Regions from separate parts of the Homo sapiens genome. Here region 2 is linked to region 1. Evidence: promoter capture Hi-C in 16 types of primary human blood cells and fetal thymus (Javierre and others, 2016). All regions are on one chromosome and are shown on one strand. Each heading gives the region's core, a stretch centred on a gene start or on the middle of the fragment in contact. The rest is flanking DNA. Distances are from core to core; before and after follow the strand shown. Region 1 holds the start of MAGEC3 (MAGE family member C3). Region 2 holds the start of MAGEC1 (MAGE family member C1).

Region 1 (5,800 bases), core at 1,986-4,485:
TAAACAAATATCTACAGTTGATTTCTTATTTTTTGACTTTTAGGTTCAAGGATATATGTGCAGGTTTGTTATATAGGTAAACTCTGTGTCATGGGGGTTTGGTGTACAGATTATTTCATCACCCAGGTAATATGTATAATAACTATAGATAGCTTTTTGATCAAGTACTAGGGACTATCAAGAATGTAAAATACGGCAATATGTTTGCGAATGTCATGAGATTTAACTCAGGTGGTCAGGAAATTCCTCTTTAAGAAGATGCAATTTGTTTGGAGACCTGAAATATCCAAAAGGAGTCTTTGGATTTGATAATTAAAATGGCTTTGATGGTCTTGCAAAGTACAGCTTTATTTGAGTGGTAGAGACAGGAGTCAGAGAGCACCAGGTTGAAGAAAGAGTGACTGGTAAGTAAGAAGAGACAGACAAGAAGCTTCACTCTTGTGAGGCTTAAGTGGAAAGAAAAGAAGAAAGAAGAAAAGAAGTGAGAAGGAAAAGCAGAGTGAAGTTATTATCACATTATTTTTTACAATTCACCTTTAAAGTGGTTCCTGATGCTTCCTCTTACTTAAATTTTTATTTAATATTAAACATATTTATAAACTATAGTTAATTAGCCAGTAGAAAGGCAGATGTTGAAAATACAGAAAAAAAAAGAAGCAGTGGAGCAAGGTCCATTCTCAATCCCCTTGAATAGAACAATTTATTCATTAACTATTTACTGAGCATTTTTGTGTTTGTTTTGTTTTTGTTCTTGTGGGGTTTTTTTTTTTGATGTGAAAAACACACAAAAGCATAACTACCCACTGACCAATTTTGCAGGAGGACTCATGCTAATGCTAATACATCAGGCTGAATTTTAGACAGAATGGTTGAAGAAAATAAATGCTGAACAGTCCACTTTAATATGGCAATTTAGTGAGGAGAGGCACTCTCTCCCATTTAGAGACACAAGAAAATATTGCTTCTGTGAAAATCTTCTTAACATGGAGATGTTAGTAATGATGCCAAATTTATGAAATGTTCTTAAAGAGGTCTGAACAAAGTTTGCTACATAGAACAAATTCAAAATAATATGTAATTATATGTTTTTCCAATATCATATACTTTTGAAAAATGCAAAATCTTGTGCTAAATGTAACTTTCACTTTCTTAAATCACTTTTATGTCAATATTCTTATGAAAATATTTCTTAAAATTAAATGATATTTTATGACCTGATATTCTCTACTTGTCATTTATTTAGATTGCAAGCTAAAAACTAATTAGAAAGACTATACTTTTGCTGTTAACTTTCTCAGAGGTAAAATATCACTTTTCTTTAGTGGTTTGTGATGCTATGAATGAATACTTTCCAGGTTGGGTATTTCCTGGCTGTTAAATATCAGTTAAGTTTTGGCTGACTTCACCTCCATCTATCAACCTCCCTGCCAATCATTTAACAGCTATAGAATAGGTCTCCTCACACAAATCCTTCAGGAAGAATTTCCATTGTGCACATTCTGACCAGAAGAAAAAATGCAGCAAATTTTTGGAAAGTGAATCATTTTTAGAGTTCTGAGCAAATTATGTTAAACTCAGGGTTTCTCACTGTCAGCACCATCACATTTTAGGCAGTATAATTCTTTCTTGTGTGAGGTCGTCCTTTGTCCAATAAGACGCTTAGAAGCATCTCTGTCTCTGCTTATTAAATACCAGTAGCATTCCCTGCTGCCACCAATTATGACAACCAACAATATTTCTAGATATTGGCAAGTATCCCCTAAGTGGCAAAATCTCTTCCAGTTAAGAACCACTGAGTTAAGAACAGTAAGTAATGATCCAGGGAAAATGGATATAAAGATATTAAAAAGCTAGTAAAGCATTTGACATATTAGAAATGCATATAAACAATTCATATTTATAAAATAAAATCTACTGAAGATATAATGAATAAACACTTGTTTTGGTGAGCAAGCTTGGGATTGCAGCTGTGGGCCTGGAAGTGGTAGGAGCTGCAAAGCCTGCCCAGGATTAGCTGTAGCCAGAGCCGGCAGCCAAGACAATAGCAAAGATCAATTTGACCTCAAGATATAATCAAATATGACAGCAGAGTGAATGAAGCTTTTATTTTGCTCCGTTCTTCTCCATAATCCTTCTTATGCCCATAATCATTATAATTACATAAAATATTTAAAAACCTTTAAAAATTATTTCTTGGAAACCATGAATATGGCAGACTAGAGGCATTTTGTACTCACTTTCTCCATTAAAAATAACCAAACGGTGAGTCGATAATCACACTTTGAATATATAATTCAAAGGAAATCACTGGAATCCATTAGAAAAGTGATAGGCAATACTTAAAGCAGAGATGGAGAGGGAATCAAGGCAGCCTGCTCATCCAGGATCAGCTGTGAGCTGAGAGACTCCAAATACAGAGAAAGGATAGGTGAGAGAGCCTCAGTAGTTTACATTCTCACTATAGACTCCTATAATCCCAGCCACAGGAGATCCCTTCAACCATCATGGGCCCCGAAACTAACATAGAAAGCTGCCAGGAGATTGTATGATGGCACTGCTTCAGGGAGAAAGCTCCCGCTGGGTCCCTCACACTTCTTGAGACTTAAGCAGCTACAACAAAGTACCATTTTAGAGCCCTGCCCTCAACAGACTGAGCACTGTCCTGGAGCCCAGTAGCCCAGGGCTGAGGTGCAAGAGAAGCACGAACTGCTGCCCCAGGGACATAGGCATCAGTGACTACAGACTACAGCATCTGGTGCAGAGGTGGGACGAAGGCGTGGGCTGCTGCTTTTAGGACTGAGGCACAAATGAGGCACCACTGCAGAGCCTCACCCCCGATGAACTACATACTGTCCTGGAGCCCAGTGGCATTGAGGCCTAGGTGCAAACTAAATGTCTGATGTTTCCCTGGAGATTCAGACATGAGCGACCACAGGCTACTGCAACCAAGGGAAAGACATGAACATCAAGGCTGGGCAAGATAGCATCTTAGAGCCTCACCCCCAACAGACTGCACACTGTCTTGGAGCCAAGCAACACTGAGGCTGAGATGCAAAAGAAGAGCTGGCTGTTAACCTGGGGCTTAGACATGAGCATTCATGGGCTACCACACCTGGGGCTGAGGTGGGAGCACCACTGGGGATAAGGCATATGTGGCACATGTGTTTTTCACCCACTGGCCTAGACTGCCATCACTGAAGGTGGCATCCAACACCCAGTGGCAGGGCAGCAGCATGGCCACTGCCACCCTGTCTTTACCAAAGAGATAGAGACCATAAAAAAGGAACGAACAGAAATTCTGGAGCCAAAGAATGCAGTGAATAAACTAAAAAATACACATGAAAGCTTCAACAATATACTCAATCATAACTGACTTATGTTAAGATCACATTTTGCTTGAAGACAGTTTTTTTTGAAATAACGCTGTCAGACAAAAATAAAGAAAAAAAGAAAATAATAAAATAAACCTTTGGAATCTATCTAACAACATAAAGTGACCAAATATAAAAATCACTGATAGCCCAGAAGGCAAAGAGAGAAAACATGTTTTCAAAGACCTATTTATTGAAATAATAGATGACACTTCCTAAGTCGAGCAAGACACTTAGACATTGAGATACAGGAGGCCCATCAATTCCTAAACAGATACAATGTGAAAAGGTCTCTTCCATAGCACATTACAGACAAAATATTTAAAGTTTTTTTTTTCTTTTTTTCCAAGATGGCAGATTGGAAGCATTATAAGCATACTTATCCCACTTGGTAAGACAAAATGGCATGTAGAGATTCATGCTGTAAAATTTATTCGAAGAAACAATGTAAGAACTTAACAGAAAAACTGAAAGAAACCACAGACCCTTTGAATGAAGTGGCAGGCAACAGACTACATCATAAAACAGATGGAAAACCATTAGTCCCCAGAGCATGAGAGAGGGATAGATTGCTGTCATGACATATACTCCCACAGGCGAGCCAGGCAATACAAGTCATGAGGGAGGACTTCAAACCTACTCAGCTCTAGAGGTGATTCAGTGAAAAGTAAGGAATATATAAGAAGGAGCAGCATCGGGACATGCTTTGTGTGCAGACCCAGATTCCAGCAAGAATGGAGGGAAGCCATTCCTGATCCCACCTCACGGGACGTTGCAGAAGTCTAACTCAGGCTGCAGTCACAGTTTGAGAGAAGAGCCCAACTGGGATTTGTGATATAATCCTTAGTAAGGACAAAGCTGATTGGCCAGAACCGAGGGGCAAGTGAGAAGTGTGCTACGGCAACAAGGCACATGAGCTGCATGGCCCTGCTTCACAGGTGGACTGGAAAGGATGCAGCCTGAAAGATATGGTTTCTGTGTCCATAGGGAAAGCTTATGGCCTGGGATGGTTTTAAATTCTGAGCACGGGCCACTTGAAACCCAGTTAGCTGCTGCTGCTAGCAGAACACTGTGGGTATGAAAACTGACTTGCCAAGTGTGTGGGAGCTGAGTGGGGCTTATTACAACCTGCTGCCTCCCACTTTTCAGGCAGATTTTTTGTGCAGCAGAGGCAGCTGTGTTCCTGCCTGGAACATTACCCCACCAGCCAGGGAACTGCCCTCGGATCCCCACTGGGGCCACTGCTTGCACCTGCACATGGGGAGCCAGAGTGCAGACTTGCCTGACTCAGTTTAATAACTTCTGAGGCACAATGAAATCATCCCAATGCCTCCATGTTCAATTTCAGGCACTAACAAGTCCCTGAGGTATTAAATGCATTGCTTTTCTGCGGTCTTGCCACCTTCAGGAGCTTACTAAGAAAATGAAGAAGAGCCACGATCACTCCTCTCAATTAGCCTCTTCCCTTGGCTGAGAAATGTGTTTCCGGTCTTGAGAACACAGAAGTTTTGCATTTGCTCATGAGAGATCTGAAACCTTCTGACACTGCCCTGCATCTTTTCCATTCCCTCTAAATAGAGAAGACTCTTCTCCTGTCTCCTACCTTCTGCTCTGACATCCATTCACTAACACCTAGGCACAAAAAGCCTAGTTCACCCAATGGCAGAAACGGCTAAGGTGGGCCTCTTCCAAGCTATGAACAACATTTCAAAGCTTAAGTCCCTACCCTCTTCCAACACAATGTCCTTTTCATTCCTCTAGCTCAGTAGTGCTCAGATTGGGGGTGATTTTGCACCCCATCCCAAGAAGACATTTTGCAGTCTGGAAATATTTTTGGTTGTCACAACTGGGATGGCTCTTGGTGCTATCGGCATCTATTGAATAGAAACTAGGAATGCTGCTAATCATTCTAAATTCAGCAAGATGACACCCCCTCAAAAAAGCCCACAGAACTATCTGTCTCAAAATGTCAATAGTAATAAAGGTGAAAAACCCTGTAGCTCATTCCTTAATAGGCCACCCAAAGAGATTTTGGATGTTTTCATTTATAAAATTATGCATATATTTTGGCAAATCAACAGCTGTTTCTCACCACTGATGGTTAGACAAGGGAAAGAATAAGGAGACTGATATTATAATGAGCTCATTCTATGCCAGGTACAGTGCTCAATACTTCAGATTTATATTATCACATTTAATCTGTTAAAAATGTCCCAACATGTAGTAACAAGAGTTATTTTTATTTTACAAAGTTAAAAGAAAACTGAATTTTGAACAAATTGAAAGATCGATTCAGATTACAGCATCTGTAAATGGCAGAGCAGAAACTTACTATTAATGATCGCATGGCTTCAGAGCTGATGCCAGCCATCTCAATCTCACAAAGATCTCCGCATTCACTCATCTTTTACCCTCAAGCATTGTCTTAC
Region 2 (5,800 bases), core at 1,495-3,994, 66 kb before region 1:
AGGAATCTGGAGAGGAGACTGGGGAAAACCCTCAAAAGTACTGTGAGTTCTCTCAGGGGAACTCTGGAAAAGACTCAGTAAAGTGGAGGAGAAGGAGGGGCTCCCAGGAATCTGGAGAGGAGACTGGGGAAAACCCTCAAAAGTACTTTGAGCACTCTCAGGAGAACTCTGGAAAATACTCAATAAAGTAGAGGAGAAGGAGGAGGTCATAGGAATCTGGAGAAGAGACTGGGGAAAACCCTCAAAAGTACTGTGAGTTCTCTCAGGGGAACTCTGGAAAAGACTCAATAAAGTGGAGGAGGAGGAGGAGCTCACAGGAATCTGGAGAGGAGACTGGGGAAAACCCTCAAAAGTACTCTGAGTTCTCTCAGGGGAACTCTGGAAAAGACTCACTAAAGTGGAGGAGAAGGAGGGGCTCACAGGAATCTGGAGAGAAGACTGGGCAAAACCCTCAAAAGTACTCTGAGTTCTCTCAGAGAAACTCTGGAAAAGACTCAGTAAAGTGGAGGAGGAGGAGGGGCTCACAGGAATCTGGAGAGGAGACTGGGCAAAACCCTCAAAAGTACTCTGAGTTCTCTCAGGGGAACTCTGGAAAATACTCAATAAAGTGGAGGAGAAGGAGCGGCTCACAGGAATCTGGAGTGGAGACTGGGGAAAACCCTCAAAAGGACTTTGAGTACTCTCAGGGGAACTCTGGAAAATACTCACTAAAGTGGAGGAGGAGGCGGCGCTCACAGGAATCTGGAGAACAGACTGGGGAAAACCCTCAAAAGGACTTTGAGTACTCTCAGGGGAACTCTGGAAAATACTCAATAAAGCAGAGGAGAAGAAGGAACTCGCAGGATTCTGCAGAGGAGACTGGACATCCTCACCCTCAGGAGGGCTCTGAGAAATCTCTAGAGGAGACAGGGAGTCCTTCCCCTCAGGAGAACTCTGAGAATTCTGGAGAGGAGACTGGGTGTCGTCGCCCTCAGGAGAACTCTGGGGAATCTGGAGAGGAGACTGGGAGTCCTTCCCCTCAGGAGGTCTCTGGAGAGGATCCGAGGAGTCCTCCCCCTCAGAACGACTCTGAGGACTCTGGAGAGGATACAGGGTGTCGTCGCTCTCAGGAGAACTCTGGGGAATCTGGAGAGGAGACTGGGAGTCCTCCCCCTCAGGACAACTCTGAGGACTCTCAGAGGAACTCTGGAGAAGACTCGGCATCCCAGCAGTAGGCATATCCTTGTCCCCTGGAGAACGCAGAAGCAGAGAGGAGGATGAGGATGAGAAAGAAAAACAGGAGGAGGACGAGGGGAATAAAAAGTGGAAAGAGGAAGAGAAAATGGAGGAAGCTTCCTCCTCTTCCTCATCTGGGGGATCCTCTGCATCTACCAACTCCAGTATGAAAATTGCCTTCTGGAAGCCTTGCTCAAAGCTGGGGCGTGGAAGGTTTAGAAAGAGAGGCATGATGAATATTGTTCAGGAGCAGCAGGTAAACGTGTGAACACGAATAGGTATGATGGGATCCCACAGGACTGAGGGAGAGAGGGACAGTGCCAGTGGCCTCAGCTGAGAAACTCACCCATGATGGCTCTGACAAAGGCCGGCTTACAGCTCTTCTTCTCTTAAGGTGGTGCTCTAGGGCCTCACAGGTCGCCTGTCTTCCTAGGGGGTTTGTCTTCTGGGAACCTGTAGAAGGACGCGAGAAAGCACCTCGGGGCACAGCTGGCAGGCAGAGCCTGAGGCACCAGGAATGACAGTGGGTGGCTACAGGCCGGGTGCTGCCAGGTCTGCCCTGTTTCTGGGGGTAGGGCCCTTGGTACACAGTCAGGTCGTGCACTCACCTTGACTCCTGGCACTGCCTGGGCCTCCTCTGCTGTGGTGCTTTTAGGATGTATGTGTCCCTCACACCCAGGTCTTCAACTCCTGCTTTCTGGAGCACCTGCAAGAGGAAGGGAGGGAGCCCCTCCAGCTAAGACGGCAGCTGGGGCTGGCCAGACTCCCAGAGTCCCACAATTCTGAGGTTCGTGACCCCCTCAGAATTCAATTAGCATTGTCACATTTTCTCAGACAGGGCCAGGCCCCCACCACTCTGCTGGCCTGAGGAAAAACCTCAGGAAAACTCCACATCACTGAGAGCAGTGGGAGGTAGTGAGGTGGCAGCCACCTCCCAGCACTCTACCACGGGGGCGGTCCCTGTGGCCTCACGTCTGTTCTGACGCACATGTGACCCCTCAGTCCTCACTCTTGTTCCCAGCAGGGCCTGGGAATCTTCCCTCTGCCAACTGGAGGCAGCTCCCCATGCTGACTTGCCATGGGACCCCCAGAACAAGGCCTCCTCCTCCCCCTCCCCTACACCCCTCACCCAGCAGTGAGAGGGTGGCCGCTCAGCCTCAGCCACCTGGGGAGCTCTATGGGGGCTGATTTGAGGAGCAGGGTGGGAATCTCTGGGAATCTGTCCTCTGAGGTGGGGGTTCCCCCGGTCCTCCTCAATGCCTTCCTATTTATTCTCTAGAGGGCCGGCATTTCCTCCCTTCTTCTGCCGTGAGGACACGTCCCTCAGCCCTCGGCTACCATCTTCGTTTCCGCCACCTACAAGTGCCACCGCAGGGATAGGGCAGGCCAGGGCTGCTTCTCTCTGTGGTGGGGTTGTCCCTCACTTCTCCCTCGGGGCCCTCACCTTGAAGACTGGATAGGTCTATAAGTCTCCTCCCTCCGCTGACCTGAGACGATCCTCGTCACAAAATGCCTCAGGTCCTTCAGACTCCCAAGATGGCCGCCGGGAAAGCACATCCGGCAAAGCACATCCGGGAACTCTGTCAGGGTTGATCAGGGCTGACAGCCCGGATAGCGTGGGGCGGGGCCTCCTCTCAGAGGAGGAAGGCGCCCCCCCCCCGCCGCCCGCTTGTCAGCCTCCTTTCCATCCCTTCCTTCCCACCTCCAGGATGTGCTCCAAACCTTTCTGCTCACTCCCTAAGCCCTGCTGACCTCTTCCCTCCCACCTCCCCAGTCCTTGACACTCACACCCCACCTTTTTCCAGGGCTGACAGCAGGGAGTGGCAGGGTGCAGCCTGTGCCTCCCCCGTGTTCGGAGGTCACTGTCCTTCGACAGAGTTCTCTTCTTGTTGAGTGGCCAGCCCTGGGGCTACTCCCTCTGTTTAACTGAAGCTGCCCTCCTCAGAGAAAATCTCCCCTCTGGCTGACTCCCAAAATGGAAGTCAGAAATTTGTAAATCTGGGGACCCTGATGGGCTCCTCCATGGCTGGCAGCAGGCACAGGGACAGGACAGGCAGCACTACCAGTCATGGGTGTTCCCTTCCTGCCTTCCTGAGAGGCTGTTCCTGGACTCCTGACATTGTCTGGGCTCCCTGCCTCTATGCATCTGAGTCTTTCACCTCCGAATAAGCCCCTCCCATCCTTGAGACCTGCAAGGTGCAAGAGAGGTAGAATCACATCCATCCACAGTGGGGTATGGCCTCCCAGACTCCAGGTAGGGCTCCACTGCCCTCCGTCTGAAATGGCATGGGAGGGACCCTCAGTCTTCCTCAACCTATTATTCCTGATACGGCCTCCACTCCCTCCCTCTTCTCTCCAGGGACTGTTTTTCAGATCAAGGTTCCCATTTCCATGAACCCCCCAAGAGGGACTGGAGCACGCTAGCGTCTCTCCCTAATGGCCCTGCCCAAGGCCTCCTAGCAGTGAAAACGGGCAGGTTTTTGGGGATCCTCCTGTGTCCGTGGTGGGGTAGCTCACCAGTCCATCCTCTGTATCAGCCTGGGGATGCCTAGAAGGCCCCCCTCCTGATCTTCCGCTCTCATGATCTGAAGTGAGACTCACCTAAGCACAGCCTTCTCCTCTTTCTACACGCTAAGACGTCAGGGGACAGCACTGTGGGTCAACATGCCCCTGGGCCTCCCAGGGATGACAACAGGTGGGGAGCTGGTTTCTGTGGATCCTCTTCTTTGTGGGCAGGAGGTTTCTGCAGTTTTCCCTCAGAGGCCTCATCTGACTACTGGCTGGTCCTGGGTCTTCCTATCCTTCCCAAGATGACAGTATGACACAGGGAAAAAAGTAATGTGACTTTACCCTGAAGAAAACTGACAAACACTAGGTCACCATGGTGATCAAAGTAACATCATCAGTGACAAATTGTGTTGGTATTATGTGCCGTCGGTATGATATGATAAGAATGGCACTTCACTTCTCTGTTCATCTTCCGAGAAAACGTAACCTACATCAAATCATAAAAAATAATCACTTAATTCCCAATCAAAGGCTATTTTACAAAATACCTGACCATACACCTCCAAACTGTCAATGTTTTCAAAATCAAGAGAAGTCTCAGTGAACTGGCACAGCCAAAGGGCATTTAAAGAGACATGATGAACAAGTGTAATGGCGTATCCTCAGGGTATCTTGGGACAGAAAATAGACTTTCGTGACAAGGAAATAAATGTGAATAAAGTATGTTTATTAATAAACAAAGGATGTTTGCATAGGAATAGTACCAGCTCTTCTTTAATAACCACATTTTAACTTCCTTGCCTCTGAGATAATCCCGTCTCCAAATAATGCCACATGTTAATTTCAACATAAGACTTCAGTGGGGGTGCAATTGAATCTATAATAGTGGAAAGGGAAGTGGCAGACCTATATGTATATTATTACCCATGTGTAGTTATAAACACATACATAAGCTCATATATGTATAAATTTTACTTTAAAAACCACATCAATCTTCTCAAAATTCTAAATCAGCTTTTAAATTTAAACACCACACGGTTAATTGTGGAAACTTCTGAATAGGGGGCTGAATTTTGGAGGAACTTTCCAAAAGGGAGAATTGTGATTTCTACCTCTTTTTTTAAGTTTTTGCAACAACAATATATGCAGTATTTATTTGTAAGGAAAGTATTGAAATAAGCCTAAGAAAAGGATGAGGAGCAGTCCAGGAGGCAGATAAAATAACAGTAAGCTCTTGGAACAACAACAAAAAAATCCTTCATTTTTACATGACTCAACACGTTTACTTTTTTGTACATAAATTCTGAATTTAGTTGGCAGGGTATTATGGGCTGAATTTTGAATCTCCCCCAAAATTCATATATCCGTCTTAAAACCCAGTATCCCAGAATGTGACTGTATTTGAAGATAGAAACTTTAAAGAGGTAATTAAGGTAAAATGAGGTCTTAAGGTTAGGCTCATATTCAGTATGACAGGTGTCCTCATAAAAGAGCAGATTAAGATACAGACACACAGACCAAGGAAAAACCATGTAAGAATTTAGTGAGAAAGTGGCCATCAGCAAGCCACGGAGAGGCCAGGGAAGAAATCAAACTGGCCCACATCTTGATCTTAGATATTTAGCCTCCAGAAATGGGAGAAAATTCATTTGTATTGTTTAAGTCACCCCGTCTGTGGTATTCTGTTATGGTATAAGAAACTAATCCACGGCGGGTCCTGGCTTTCACCTCAGCCAGGAATCCAAGCTGCTGTCACCTTATAGCTCCACGTCACAACAGATGTTAAGTGCTGAACGGAAATGAAAGCATGGGAATGATACACTGGCTTCTGTCTAACTACAAATGAACCCGCCAGGAAGGCGAGCTAGACAAGATGGAGATGGGCACTTGCAATCTCTCCCATATGTTATTACGGTGCTCAATGAAAAGCAACTATTATAATTGATGACAGTAAGTGCCTTCATTGCTTGGAATTGTTTCTGGGAATGTCCTCGTAGCCTTGAAATCTTCCAACTTTTTCTTGCACCTACGAGGTGACTGGTGGTTTCAAATTCAGGATTACATCCAGTTTTAAAAC

Evidence for each region. The method cuts DNA at HindIII sites, captures the fragments that hold promoters and counts their contacts. A CHiCAGO score of 5 or more calls a contact.
Region 2: the fragment with the promoter of MAGEC1 here is called in contact with the fragment with the promoter of MAGEC3 in region 1 in 11 of 17 cell types (neutrophils, total CD4 T cells, fetal thymus and 8 more); the score reaches 11.6 in neutrophils.

What each region holds. Positions count from the first base shown.
Region 1 is chrX:141,835,751-141,841,550 of GRCh38, reverse strand. MAGEC3 (MAGE family member C3) reads right to left here and starts at 3,235. Exons shown (of 8, transcript NM_138702.1): 1 at 3,113-3,235. The coding sequence starts at 3,235. The HindIII fragment of the contact is 1,245 bases long and covers 2,103-3,347 here.
Region 2 is chrX:141,900,838-141,906,637 of GRCh38, reverse strand. It overlaps MAGEC1 (MAGE family member C1), which reads right to left and starts at 2,744. Exons shown (of 4, transcript NM_005462.5): 1 at 2,660-2,744; 2 at 1,824-1,921; 3 at 1,562-1,668; 4 at 1-1,229. The coding sequence starts at 1,565. RefSeq lists an enhancer at 1,429-2,628. The HindIII fragment of the contact is 6,965 bases long and covers 1,334-5,800 here.